Linked DNA regions of Homo sapiens: regions 1 and 3 are each linked to region 2. The links are contacts of gene promoters, found by promoter capture Hi-C in blood cells and fetal thymus (Javierre and others, 2016). All regions are on one chromosome and are shown on one strand. Each heading gives the region's core, a stretch centred on a gene start or on the middle of the fragment in contact. The rest is flanking DNA. Distances are from core to core; before and after follow the strand shown. Region 1 overlaps RGS3 (regulator of G protein signaling 3). Region 2 holds the start of POLE3 (DNA polymerase epsilon 3, accessory subunit). Region 3 has its middle 170 kb from the start of RGS3.

Region 1 (4,714 bases), core at 1,989-4,488, 130 kb after region 2:
GAAGGTAGAGGGAGTCAGGGGAAGATGGACTTAAAGAACAGTTGGGAGGTCACTCCCTTGCTGTGGGACCTTCAGCAGCCGCTGGCTGCTGTGGTGTCAGTAGTCCCATCTGGGCACTGGGCCCGTGGCTCTTTCTATCTCTCCAAGCTTTGTGATTTTCGTGAAAGCTGAGGGCCGGGGGCCATCTAGTATCCATTTTTTGTAGAAATAAATGAACTACTTTCTCTCTTGTCTCAACTTCCTACTCCTGTTCATCACCCGCTCCTTCCTTTTCAGAGCTCTGCCCCTCTGTTGCTTCATTATCTGTAGCTGGGGGGCGCCTACCTTTCTTCTTCTGCCTGGGAATCCTTGTACTAAACTCCCTGCATGGGGACTGCTGCGAGGCTTCTAATCTAGAATAACTCAGAGCTGGGCCCACCTGTGGCCATTCAGGTTCTAAGCTAGAAGGGAGAGACAATTATATATTCTTTTGATTATTCAAGCAAATATACATAATAAATGCCTTCTCAGTGCCAGATACTGGTTTAGATCCTTTGGGATCACAGAGATGAATGAGACCTGGTCCCTGTCGCTATGGAATTCTCCTAATAGGAGAGAGATGAGGAGGGCACTGGAGTGGTGATCTAAGCATGAAAGCCATGCTTGCGGGTCCTAAGAAGGATCCAGTGGGGTCCTGGCTATCCAAGCATCATCCGTGCCGTGAGCCTCCTGCTCAGTACCCTTCATGTGCCTGGTGCTGGGCTGGGCTCCAGGAAGCCTTCTGAGAAGCATGGAAACCAAGCCTTTAGGATGAGAAGGGCAGACACAGTGCAGTGGGGCCTGGCCCCATTCTCAGGGCAGGTCCTGTGCTCCACGGGGAGGGACGCACAGAGCAATCCATCACCCCCTTTCCTCGGGAGATCACAGTCTGGTGGCAGAGACAGACATGACAGATAGTTCAAAGTAACACAGTAAGCAATGTGACCTCAGGTGAGCCAGTTAGCCTCTCTGAGACTCAGTTTTTGCATCAGTAAAGTGGATGGATTAAGAGGCTTCTTGTGAGGATTGAACTCAGGATGTGCTTTGCAAAGTGGCATGCAAGAGGAGCTCTGAACTAGCCGCTATCGTTCTCACTGTCATGGTTTTAAAGTGCTGTCCATATGGGAAGATTCATCGGGGGCCTTGTTCATTGAAGCTGCTGCTGGTGCTCGGAGCACATATGACAACTGCTCCATGTCACTTCCTGGTAGACATCTGCCATATTCCAGGGGCCCAGGCAGGGAAACTGAGGCCTCCTTGTCTGCTCTGGCTCTAAGACTTCTCCCAGATGTGACGGTGAGGTGCGTGCCACCTTGTCATCTCCACTGGGGCCACTAGAGACAGCCCTGGAGATGCCAGGGTGTGTGAGTGCCTTAGAAAGGAACAGAGGCAGGTCCTGCAGTCAGGCAGCCCGGCCTGAGTAGACAGCGAGCTAATTCCAGTTCTGTCTGGTTCCACAGAAACTCCACCCTTTCGGCTCTCTCCAGCAGGAGATGGGGCCGGTCAACTCAACCAATGCCACCCAGGATAGAAGCTTTACCTCACCAGGACAGACTCTGATTGGCTGAGCAAACCCAAGGGCGGGACTCTGCTTCTGGCAACTTAACCCTTTCTTGGGCATCCCCTACCACACAGTAACCTCACCTCAACTGGACCTGAAACAGAGGACCAAGATGGTGGGTCTAGGGTCATCTGAAGGGAGTGGTCCCAAGGGTGCATGTGGATGTCAACAGAAGGACCACAATGGTGTGAGAGGCCTTGTGGGCATGCAGAGACTGGCAGCAGAAAGTCCCAAGAGGAGAGGACTCAGAGGCTTCTTCCTTCCAAGGAGGAGGAGGAGGAGGACATTCCACATCTGGGCTTCCAGTGGTGGCTCCCGGACCTGCCTTGGGGGCAGCAGGAGAGGTTGGGAGAGGTCACCCTGATGAAGAACAATGCCATGATCTGCTGCTGCCAGAGGACATCTCCGCCCATCCACTCATTTTCCACCTGTACACATTGGCTCATTCATTCGATGGATATTTCGGGTGCATCTACTTTATGCCAGGCTCTATGCTAGGAGCTGGGGATACTGTGGAGAAAAAGTCGGATATGGTCTCGCTCTCATCAAGATTTCAGTCTAGCTGGGAGTGAGCGTTAAATAAGTCAATACCAACACACACACGTGCACACACGTGATGGCAAGCTGTGATCATCTATGAAAGAAAAAACACAGATTTCTTTAAGAGGGAATTGTACTTAGAGTGCTGTGTGTGGGGGTGGGGATGGGGAAGGACATAACTTTTAAACCGAGACTTGTGGGCTGGAGAGGAAGGAGCCAGTCCTGGACTTGGGGAAGAGTGTTCGCGGTGGATGGAATAGCACGTGGAGAGTCCCTGAGATGGGAAGGAGCTCAGTGGGCTGGAGGAATGGCGAGCAGGCCAGTGTGGCTGGAGCTTAGTGAGGTGCAAGACACAGTGGGTGAGGTAGTTGATGTCTTGTTGATTTCATTCTAGATACACTGGAGAGCCATTGAAGGCTTTTGAGGAAGGGAGTTGCAAGTACATTTTTACAAGATCCGTTTACACATAGGAGGGGCCCAAGTGGGTGTGAGATCAGTTAGGGGGCTCGTTCAGTTCTCTAGGTGAGGACTGTCCTGGTGGCTTGTCCTGGATGGTGGCTGGGGAAGTGGATGCCTGAATGCCAGGCTCTGGAGAAGAGATGACTCCCTGCCCCATCCCCCTGCCTACCCTCCTCCTCAATGGCCCCTCTCTCAGTGGATGTGAGTGAGGATTAGGACCTTCCCCACAGAGCCACCTTTTGGCCAGGCCTCGTGGGGGATAGTGGGGGCAGTGCTGAGTTCTAGGAGTGTTCCTGGAAGTTGGGGGCAGTGAGTGCTCAGCCTGGCCCAGGTGGGAGAGTTCACTGCTGCCCAGGCCTTAGCAGGGGCTGCTGTGCTGTCTTTCTGTCCCATGCTGAGCATTGTGATAGGAAGCTGCCACACAGTGCCCTGGAAACTGACTTCGCATGCTTTCCATGGGGCTTCCGAGGGCCAGGGACTGGGCTGGGGGTGGCCTAGCAGCTCTAGTGGAGACTGTGCTGCCGCAGGGCTGAAGGAAGACCAACCAAGGGGACAGCCGTTTGAGCCCAGCCCACTCACTGCCTGCTGCACCTCCAGCTGGAGCCCAGGGTTGGGCAGCTCTCATACTCTTATCTAACTGCCAGACCTAGAGGGAGGGAAGCCCAAGGCTGCAGGTCTGAGGGACACGGCTCATGGGCAAAAGGGTATCAAGAGGATTAGAGTCACTTGCATAGGAAAAGAGGGTCAGAGAGGCTGAGGGCTGGCTGAGGCCAGAGAGGTTCCCTGACCTTGGACATTCTTTGTGTTGTGTAAGACCTCGGCATCTTTAGAGAAAGGTTCTTGTGCCCCTGTGAGCTTGCTCAGCTGCTATGGCCACTTGAACCCCAAAAATGGTGGCCTAGAAGAGAATACACCCCTTACTTCCCACTTATCCTCCTCTCAACCTAGGAAAGATCAGACATATTGACTCAACAGTCTAACAGGGGATGGGCTGGATCTGCCCGTGACCAGACCAATGCCCCCCACCCAGCAAGGGAGTAAACGCTGCCTGAAGTGGGACCAGTGATACACAGCATCTCTGTCTGCCAGGGCTCAGCCCGCGGGGGGGATTTGTGAGAGGCTGAGCAGCTGGGTCTGCACAGACAGCAAGCTGCACTTTGATTTCATTTGATTCCCTTACAAAATGACATTAAGGGGAATGTGAGGCACAGGAGACTCGCCTGTCTGGGAAGGCAGCAAGCTCATCTCTCCTGGACCTGGTGACCTACCTCTGTCTACCAGACAGGTGCAGAGGACAGGAGCTCTGGCCACAAAGAAATGGACAGTCTGAATGCAGCACACAGCCCTGGGGACAGGACTTTTCACCCAGCCTGTCCTGACAAGCTGCTGAGTCGAGCAGATGCTCACATCAGGGTCCCAGGTCCGGCTGTTAGGGAAGTGGACATCAGTTCCTGGTGGGCCCTGGGCAGTGACTGTGGTGAGCCACAGCACCATTGCTGCTCTGCCTCTCAAATCGATCGAACAATTAATTTGGCTCCACAGGCTCGAGAAGATGAAACATGACCTGATGGCCACTGCTGTCCAGCATCCCAGTCCATCCTAGCTGTCCAGGATGATGAACAAGCTATGGAAATTGCACTTGAGAGCTATAATCACGGGAAGCATTGCCGAGCCCCTCCCTGCTACATAAATCATGCTAAGAAGCACACAATGGCCTCTTTCCTGATGGGCTAATTGTCTTGGTTTGGTGTCTCAGGCCCAGGAGCTGGGAAGATGGGAGCACAACCATTTATTGTTGGAAAGACCATCTGTGCAACTTGAATACAAAGTGATTCTTTTAGTTCCCCACACACCCCCGACCCTCTGATCCCATTTTCATGTTTTTTTTTTTTTTTTCTTTTTATGTCTCAGGCTCTGGTTCTTTTAAAACTCTTCATCTATCCTGTAAGCCATCAGGCCTGGATCTCTGCTGGCCTGGGTCTTTTGGCTATTTGGGGGTTGGGACATTGCAGACCTTTTGGAAATAATGACATTTATTTATATATGTCTTATATTTTTATTCTTTATTTTTCCCCATAAATTCTATTACCAAAGTCCTCATTTGTCACACATGGCACCAAGGCACCAAGAGGGTTT
Region 2 (4,530 bases), core at 474-2,973:
CTCCTTCTTGCCTTTCTGCTCCCGCCTATATGCTGTAAGGACGGAACAAGGGGTTAGGAGACAGAGCTGAAAGTGAGCCAGACGGACTGCAGGAGCTAATTACATTGTACAATTGGAAAAACGGAGGCAGATGGGCGCGGTGGCTCACGCCTGTAATCCCAGCACTTTGGGAGGCTGAGACGGGCGGATCACCTGAGGTCAGGAGTTCAAGACCAGCCTGGCCAATATGGTGAAACCCCGTCTCTACAAAAATAAAAAATGAGCCGCACGTGGTGGCGTGCGCCTGTAGTCCCAGCTACTCGGGAGGCTGAGGCAGGAGAATTGCTTGAACCCAGGAGGAGGAGACTGCGGTGAGCTGAGATCCCATCACTGCACTCCAGCTTGGGTGACAGAGCAAGACTCCGTCTCAAAAAAAAAAAAAAAAAAACAAAAACAAGAAAAGCAAGACAAAAACAAAAACGGAGGCAGAGAAGGAAAAATAACTTGCTCAGCATTACAAAACAGATCTGAGGTGGTGCCCACCGAACTGGGTCGAGTCACATCAAGTGCTGGCTTACTGGACTTAAAGGGACCCGCGCTGAGAAGGCTCAGGGCCTGGTGAACAGGTCACACAGGATGACCATCTTCTATGTGGTTTAGAAGACAAGAGGCTCGTTACCTTCCAGAGCTTCTTTCAATGGGGTAACGAACCGCTGGAACTCCATCTCTTCCATGGCTGAGAGCACATCACTGGCATTCAGCGTCTTCCGCTTTCCTTTCATTGCAAAGTTGTTAGCACTGAGAGAAGAGAAAGGCTGTCAGACTCCCTCTTGTTTGTAAGGCGTGAGTGGGAAAAGGAGCACCCAGAGGTGGAACGGGAAAGCCTGCCTCTTACATGTATGGATTTTGGTGTGACAGGGATAAGTCCTTCCCTTCTCTGCACAAAAAAGCTAAAGCAAAGTGATTTTGTTGTGTTATTTTGCTTCAGAACTTGTAAAAACTGGCAGAGGACTGTGAACATGTCCCCACCGAGGGAGAACACAATCGTTGGGGTTTGTAGGCTCCCAGCCAGCAACTCCCAGCCAGGTATCCCCGCGCCTCCCTTATGCCTCTGTCCCGCTCACCAGGATGTGGCGTACAGCACGAAGACGCTGGCGGCGCGGGAGATGGCGCTCCGGGCCTCCTTGGAGATGTTGACACCGTCCGGGAGCTGCGAGGAGACCGGGGGTGAGCAAAGCTGCCGTTCCAGCACCTGCTTCCCTCCTGCCCGTTCGTCCGCCCCCCCCGAGCTGCTCACCGCCTCCTTGATGATCCTGGTGATCACGGCATTGGGCAGGTTTAGGTCCTCGGGCCTCTCCGCCATTGCCGCCGCTGGGGCTTAAACTCCCCTTCGCCTCCGCTTCAGGGAGCTACTGCGTCCGGACTTCCCGCGTCGCTACGGTCTGACCCTGCGAGGTTTCCGTTCCGCCCCACGTGGCCTACAGTGTCCCACAGTGCTCTGAGCGCCATAGCCTCCCTCCTCCCCCCACAGCCCCGCCTCCGCCTCAAATACCGGCGCATCCGGATTTTGAAGCCGCAGTGGTTTTGGCCCGCCAAGGCTTCCATCCAACCCTACCGCACCCCGCACGCCCCTCCCCAGGTCCATTTCTCTGCTTCTCGCCATCGCCGCGTCGGGAACCTTCTCACCAACTTATTTGGCTCAATGGAGCTTCCGTCCGTTTCCCATGGTGCCCTGCGCCGCTGCTGGGTGACGGCGCGGCCGGGCGCAGCGCGTGGGAGACGAAGGCGTGGCTGACTCGGCGGGGCGGATCCCTTTAGGACCCGAGGCAGGCTCTGGGCCCGCCGGGTCCGTTAATCTCACCGCGCCGCAAGGGGCCACGTTTTACCACTTGATTTAGCAACCCTAAGCGGTTTGGAATCTGCTTTGCTCTCACAGGACCTCAGCCCGTCGTGATCAGATTCTCCCACTTTCTTTTTTCTTTCCTGGAATGGAGTGGGCAGTCTTTTTCCATCTCTACCGAAGTTGATGTTCATTTTTAATCTTTTCGCCCCTCACGCTTTTGTAATAATGGTACTAAGACTGAGTGTTATTTAGATTTTATTGTTGTTGTTTGTGTTTAACGCGAACTATTTAGGCAGCCCAGGGATAATGCTGGCCATATAGAGATGCGCCTGATTAGGTCTCAGGAGTCAATTCGGACTGGGCAGGTAACGAAAGGGCGAGAAGCAGCCTTTTCACTGTATGAAGAATGCAACGTCACATTCGCTTTCAAAAACAAACCGTGTTAAAATTGTATTTATTTTTCAGTTAAATTGTTCATCATACATTTTTTCCAGTTAAAACCATTCTCAAGGTTTTGCAATGGCGTTTCTTTTTTTTTTTTTTTGAGACAGTCTCACTCTGTCGCCCAGGTTGGAGTGCAGTGGCGCCGATTTCGGCTCACTGCAAGCTCCGCCTCCCGGGTTCACGCCATTCTCCTACCTCAGCCTCCTTAGTAGCTGGGACTACAGACGCCCGCCACCACGCCCGGCTAATTTTTTTGTATTTTTAGTAGAGACAGGGTTTCACCGTGTTAGCCAAGATGGTCTCGATCTCCTGACCTCGTGATCCGCCCGCCTCGGTCTCCCAAAGTGCAGGGATTACAGGCGCCAGTCACCGCGCCCGGCGCAATGGTGTTTTAAGTTGTTTTTAAGTTATTTTTATATTAAGTTCGTAGAAATTCTCACTCCCACTGATTTTATTTATTTTTTAATTTTTAAAATTTCTTGACAGGGTCTCACTCCGTCCCCCAGGCTGGAGTGCAGCGGCACGGTCTCGGCTCACTGTAGCCTCGACCTCCCTGGCTCAGGTGGTCCTCCCACCTCAGCCCCAAATAGCTGGGGCTACAGGTGCGTTCCATCACACCCAGCTAATTTTTTGTATTTTTCGTAGAGACAGGGTTTCACCATGTTGCCCAGGCTGGTCTCGAACTCCAGGGCTCAAGTGATTCTCCCTCGGCCTTGCAAAGTGCTGAGATTACAGGCATGAGCCACGGCGCCCAGCCTCCCACTGAGAATTAATGCTGCTTTTTTTTCCCGTCAAGCATGCAGTCCCAAGTCGCCCTGTAGTTTTCCTGCTTTCGATAGAAGCCTGATTATAGAGAAATATTTTAAAACAAAAGAGCAAATGCTATGATAAATGGCAACTGAAAGTGTTTCAATTAGAGACCATAAGGTCTGGTGGGGGAACTCCGCTTGGATAGAACAGACCTGGCTGAAACCATCAGGGCTGCTCAGCGCTAGTCAGTTGCTCTTCAACTGGAATTGGGCTCAGTGTTGTCAAGTATTTTGGTCCCTAAAAGGACATTGTGGGCTATTTCAATTTTAAAATTGATTCAAATTTAAAATTGATTCAAAGTGCTAGCCAAACAAAACAAGTAATAGGCCAGGTGCAATCCCAGGCTGATAGTTTATCTTTGATCTAAATTATGAAACTGTTTAGAACAGGGAGTTTGTTTATTACTGTTCATGTCCAAAGCAGGTCCCCTCACATATTTAGTAATCAATAAATGTGTTGAATAAAAGAAAGAAATGGACACTGTCCTTAAAAAGTTCTTAGGAATAAGGTGGTAGTTAGTGATTGCCTAAAACACCTCTAGAAAGGAAAAGATGATAATATTTATTGAACACCTCCCATGAATAAAAGTACATTATCTCATTTAATGCTTCTGCAGTCCTACTTAGGGATTCCCTGCCTTCTGCTTATGTTATTTATTATTTTTTGTGGAGAGGGGGTAACTCATCTTGGCCTACCAAAGTGCTGTGGTTACAGACCTGAGACACCAAGTCAGGACCCCTCCCCCTACTTGAGAGAGAGGTGTGAAGACCCTTGTCAAAGGCCATATGGCCAATGAATGAAAAGCTAATGGCCTCTGATGCAACTAGCAGTGTCTAGTGATTTGCTATTTGAGCAAACACATTCATTGCTGGTGGGTATTTTATCTGCCTGCATGGGAACTGAAGCACATTGAAAAATGAAACATGTCTTCCAGAAGTTTGGGCCTTCTAAGACACTTCTGTGACTACTTTGGTCATAATTTGATAATGCTTTTTGGAGATGGTGGCATCTTCTCCCTGATGACTAACGAAGGGGAAAAGGAAAGGATGCAAATATTTATTTGGAACAATATGCCAGGCTTTTAATATCCATTAACTAATTTTTATAATGACCCTGTGAAATAAGCTTATCCTCATTTTACAGTGGAGGCAACAGGCTCAGACTGGTTAAGTCCCAGGTCACTCAGCTATTAAATAGCCAATTAGGAGACCTGAAGTCCTGCTCTCAAACTCTTGCCATTCTACTTTATGCTGAGCTATTTTCATACTTGCTTGTTATCCAATCTTTAATTATTTTGTGGCCATCATTTACCTATATAGGTTCAATAGAAATATTTTATACTGTGAGTTCAAATTAACATCTGGACTGTATGGCTAATGTATAATACTCCCTAATTATGTAGCTGTTGATTTTCCAGAGCACTAGAATGCTGCAGGGTTGGCCTTTGGCCTAAA
Region 3 (4,599 bases), core at 1,069-3,568, 220 kb after region 2:
TGCAAATCAAAACCATGATGAATTGCCACTTTACACTCACTAGGATGGCTGTAACTTTTAAAAAAGGGAAAATAACTGTTTTTGGTGAGGATGTGGAGAAATTGGAAGTGGATGTGGAATCTGGCAGTTCCTCAAAAAACTAAACATAGATTTACCATAGGGGCCGGGCACGGTGGCTCATGTTTGTAATCCCAGCACTTTGGGAGTTATGAGGCAGGTGGATCACCTGAGGTCAGGAGTTCAAGACCAGCCTGACCAAGATGGTGAAACCCCATCTCTACTAAAAATACAAAAATTAGCCAGGTGTGTTGGCACGTGCCCATAATCCCAGCTACTCAGGAGGCTGAGGCAGGAGAATTGCTTGAACCCGGGAGGCAGAGGTTGCAATGAGCCAAGATAGCGCCACTGCACTCCAGCCTGTGCAACAGAGCCGGACTCCGTCTCAAAAAGAGAAAAAAATAAAAAATATTGACCACAGGACTCAGAAATTTCACTCCGAGGTATAGATCCAAGAGAAGTGGAAATATATTCACGCAAAAACCTGTAAATGAATGCTCACAGCACATGATTAATAATTTTCAAAGAGTAGAAAAAACTCAAATGTTGATCAACTGCTAAAGGGATACACAAAATGTGATCTGTCTAAACAGTGGAGTATTATTTAGCCATAAAAAAGAATGAAGTACTGATTTATGCTACAACTTGAAATGTTTAACCTTGAAAGTATTATGCCAAATGAAAGAAGCCAGTTACAAATAGTCAAATGTTGTAGAATTCCAATTATATAACCTATCCAGGTGCCAAATGCAGACAGATAGAAAGCAGATTCGTTGCCAGGAAATGAGGGGAAGGGGAGTTGGGGATTGGCTAGTATTAGGTCAGTGCAGAAGTAATTGCGGTTTTGGCCACTTAAAATAAAAAACGTCAAAAACTGCAATTACTTTTGCACCGACCTGTTAATAGGTATAAGATTTCTTTTGGGGATGATAGAAATGTTCTAGAATTAGGTAGTGGTGATAGTTGTACAACATAGTATACTAAAAGCCACTGAATTGTACAATTTATTTATTTATTTATTGTGACAGAATCTCACTCTGTTGCCCAGACTGGAGTGCAGTGGCACCATCTTGGTTCACTGCAACCTCTGCCTCCTGGATTCAAGTGATTCTTTCTGCCTCAGTCTCCTGAGTAGCTGGGATTACAGGCGCCCACCATCATGCCTAGCTAATGGCTAATTTTTATATTTTTAGTACAGACGAGGTTTCACCATGTTGGCCAGGCTGGTCTCGAACTCCTGACCTCAGGTGATCCACCCGCTGTGGCCTCCCAAAGTGCTGGAATTACAGGCGTGAGCCACCGTGCCAGGCCTGAATTGTACACTTTAAAGTAGTGAGTTTTACGTTATGTGAATTGTATCTCAAAAAATAAATTAAAAGTATGTGCAATGAGAGAAGACGGTGTTCATGGTTTATTAAAGGGAAACCACAAGGTTACATAACTTAGCTGCAATATCTACCATACTCTATACATACGAGAATTCCTAAAAAGTAACAGTATTAGAATATGTGTGTGTGTGTGTGTGTGTGTGTGTGCGTAGCAGATACAGATGCAACCACAAACTGAGACACGTAAGAAATGTCATGTTTGTCTCAATTTTAAAATGACCTGAGAAAGAACTCTTCTGTGCACTCGCTTTAACCCTCTTTCTTCCTTACTACTCAAACCTTCGCTAGGTTGAAACTGCAGCCTGGAGAATGGGATTGGAGGTGAGAAGAAACTGACATTCTGTCTATTTCTAGACCAGAAAATTCTGCACTGGTCTAGAAATAGACATGATTGCCTTGGACTGTGTTTGCAATTTAAAGGAATTGTCATTACTAAGACAGCAAAAAAGTCGCCCCCCCCAACCCTTCCTGGAGTTGTCCCACTGACTACATTTTAAAGAGATAATGGAACACAAAAATAAAGTTGTGCTTTTGATTACATTACCAGTCTGGCTTGTTCAACCTGCTGGTTCCAATAGCATTATTTCTGCACCTGTTGCTAGCTAGGCATTGGGCTACTATAACAAAGGTTTGCCTCGTTTAGCCTCAAAAACATCCTAAAGGCAGGCCATACCCTCCAGATGATCCAGAAGGAGAAACTGAAGCCCAGGGTGGTTACATTGCATGTTCTTGGTCACACAGCTAGTAGGTGGCAAGTTTGCCTTTTTGAGCCTCTATCTCCTCATCTGTGAAATGGGGATGCTATGGTTACCTTGCAGGGTCACTATAAGGATTCACAGAGGTGAATGGGGGTGCTCTGCGCACTGTAGGGGGTGCAGTCAAGGATCACATCTTCCTCTTTGAGCCTGCCTCCCCGTCTCCTGGCACTGTGTCTCTGGATGAGACTGGAGCTGTGTTTGGCCTCGTATGTCCTCACATCTGGAAGGCATAGACTTGCTGGCACACTTGGCTTTTGGGTTCTGGAAATCCCCTCTCCTGTCCCCTGACCTTCATCTCTGGGCAGCTGACAGCAGCTGACTCCCCACAGCCAGGCTGGAGGGGTCTCAGGCTCCGGGAAGGATTTCTGCCTCCCCAGAGAGGGCTGGCTGGCTCAGCCTTCTCGGGCAGCACTCCGCGTTAACCTCACTTCACGACCATGTTTCTGGTTTACTGGGAACCAGGCAGAATCTGCCGAGTCCTCAAAATATGAGAGGCTGAGGTTTTCTCTGCTGGTGTCTGTCTGGCATCCTGCTGGTCCTTATGAAGGGGTCCAGGGAATTGGGTTTGCAAAAATCTGGAGTGGGGTGCAATACAGGGCCCTTGTCTTCTGGCTCCCAGCCTAGTGGCAGGGCAGCCTCAGCCTGCATATTGGGAGAGAGGCTCTCCCCCAGTCTGCTGGTCCTGTGTTCCAACCTCACTTGCTATGTGATCTCAGGCAGAGACCTTTGCCTCTCTGGGTCTCATGAGCCCGTGTGTACAAAGACATGATTAGTTCTCCATGCACTGTGTGTGTGTGTGTTCATGGGCTATGCATGAGTGTGCCTGTGTGACAGATGGGGAAATTTGGAAATGGGGAGGCATTTTTGGTTGTCACAAGGATGAAGGCAGGGTGCTGTTGGCATTAGTGCCGAGAAGCCAGGGATTCTAAGTGTCCTGCAGTGCACGGGATAGTCTCACGTCGTGAAGGCCATTTGTGTCTCATTGAGAAATTCTGGGCAGGATCATTTCCCAGGTCTGTGGTTTTTGATATTTTAAGATTGTTATCGGAAAGGAGCTCATTGCTACTTAATCTGAGGAAGAATTTTTCTATGCTAATATAACTATCATCACTTGAGTCAACAGGCACAGAGCCAAGGAATGAAGAAGTCCCTCAAAGACTGTCCCATAACAGGGTGGGTCTGGCTAACTGGAAGGCCCCTTGATAGGTGTGACTGTGGGAAGGTTTGGGATTAAGGGTTGGAGGGATTGGAATTCCTAGTCTTAACAGACGGAGAGAGCAAGACTGAATGGGTGCAGGGGGAGGAGGCGTGGGAGGAGAGGAGAGAGGAGAAGGCATGGGTGGAACACTGGGCCCCTGGAAGGTGGGGGCCCTAGGAGGCAAAGTGGGCAGAGGAAGGTTCTTGGAGGTGCGGAGTTGGGCAGAAAAAGATACTGAAAACCAGGGATGTCAAATGTTCAGTGCGAAGCGTGTACCGCAGTGTAAACATGCCTCCACATTCCATCATCAGTTAGGTCTACAGCCACCCACATGTTTCTTGGGAATATGGGTTTTTCCTGGTAATTGAGGAAGGGGCTGAATGGTTTATCTTAGGAGACATACTGAGGAGCTGAGATGGTGATGAAAGGGCCGCTGAGATGGTGATGAAAGGGCCACTCAGATGAGCCACAGCTGGTCTGACTCAGAGGCGGCAGTCGCGAGGAGCAGAGAGACCACGAGAAGGCAAGAGCCCTCATGACAAAAATCTCGGGGAGGGCTTTCAACTTCCATGGGCCTGGAGTGAGTTACAGTGGTTAAACAAGCAGGTTCCCAGTTCAGGGTACCTGGGCCCAAATCTCAGCCCTGCCCTTTCTACCCATGTGACCTTGGCGAGTCACACACACTTCTCTAAGTGAGTCGGCTTCCTCATCTGTGAAATGGGGGTAACATTAGTGCTTCCTTAGATTTCGTTGAGAAGATGAAATAGCAGGATCCTGAAAGGGCACTGAGCCCAGCCCCTGACTTGCTTCTCAGTTGATATTAGTTGATATTGATCATAGACAATGGTCCCTATGCTCCATTGTCTCTGGGGGCAGGGAGGTGGCAGCTGACATTTGGGTTTCAAGTATGCTTTCTCATCTAATGCTCACACCAAGTCCACAAGGCAAATATTTGACTCCTCATCGTACAGATAAAGAATCAGAAGCTGGCCGGGCACGGTGGCTTACTCCTGTAATCCCAGCACTTTGGGAGGTCGAGGTGGGCGGATCATGAGGTCAGGAGATCGAGACCATCTGGGCTAACACACTAAAAGCCTGTCTCTACTGAAAATACAAAAAAATTAGCTGGGCGTGGTGGCGGGTGCCTGTAGTCCCAGCTACTCGGGAGACTGAGGCAGGAGAATGGCGTGAACCCGGG

Evidence for each region. The method cuts DNA at HindIII sites, captures the fragments that hold promoters and counts their contacts. A CHiCAGO score of 5 or more calls a contact.
Region 1: a contact is called between a fragment that was not itself captured here and the fragment with the promoter of POLE3 in region 2, in 1 of 17 cell types (erythroblasts). The highest score is 5.9, in erythroblasts.
Region 3: a fragment that was not itself captured here is called in contact with the fragment with the promoter of POLE3 in region 2 in 5 of 17 cell types (naive B cells, naive CD4 T cells, megakaryocytes and 2 more); the score reaches 7.6 in naive B cells.

Annotation. Positions count from the first base shown.
Region 1 is chr9:113,539,842-113,544,555 of GRCh38, forward strand. All of the region lies in intron 17 of RGS3 (regulator of G protein signaling 3), which reads left to right. Among named protein-coding and RNA genes, the nearest start is that of RGS3, 78 kb to the left of the region's middle. RefSeq lists enhancers at 1,276-1,775, 2,500-3,015, 3,016-3,531. The HindIII fragment of the contact is 3,376 bases long and covers 1,551-4,714 here.
Region 2 is chr9:113,408,952-113,413,481 of GRCh38, forward strand. It overlaps POLE3 (DNA polymerase epsilon 3, accessory subunit), which reads right to left and starts at 1,724. Exons shown (of 5, transcript NM_017443.5): 1 at 1,666-1,724; 2 at 1,277-1,457; 3 at 1,104-1,189; 4 at 659-777; 5 at 1-32. The coding sequence starts at 1,342. C9orf43 (chromosome 9 open reading frame 43) reads left to right here and starts at 1,796. Exons shown (of 14, transcript NM_001278629.2): 1 at 1,796-2,050; 2 at 4,494-4,530. RefSeq lists enhancers at 522-1,721, 624-1,523, 1,096-1,375, 1,616-1,805, 2,424-3,323. The HindIII fragment of the contact is 4,412 bases long and covers 1-4,199 here.
Region 3 is chr9:113,629,073-113,633,671 of GRCh38, forward strand. No RefSeq gene overlaps it. Among named protein-coding and RNA genes, the nearest start is that of RGS3, 170 kb to the left of the region's middle. RefSeq lists an enhancer at 2,603-3,166. The HindIII fragment of the contact is 7,179 bases long and covers 1-4,599 here.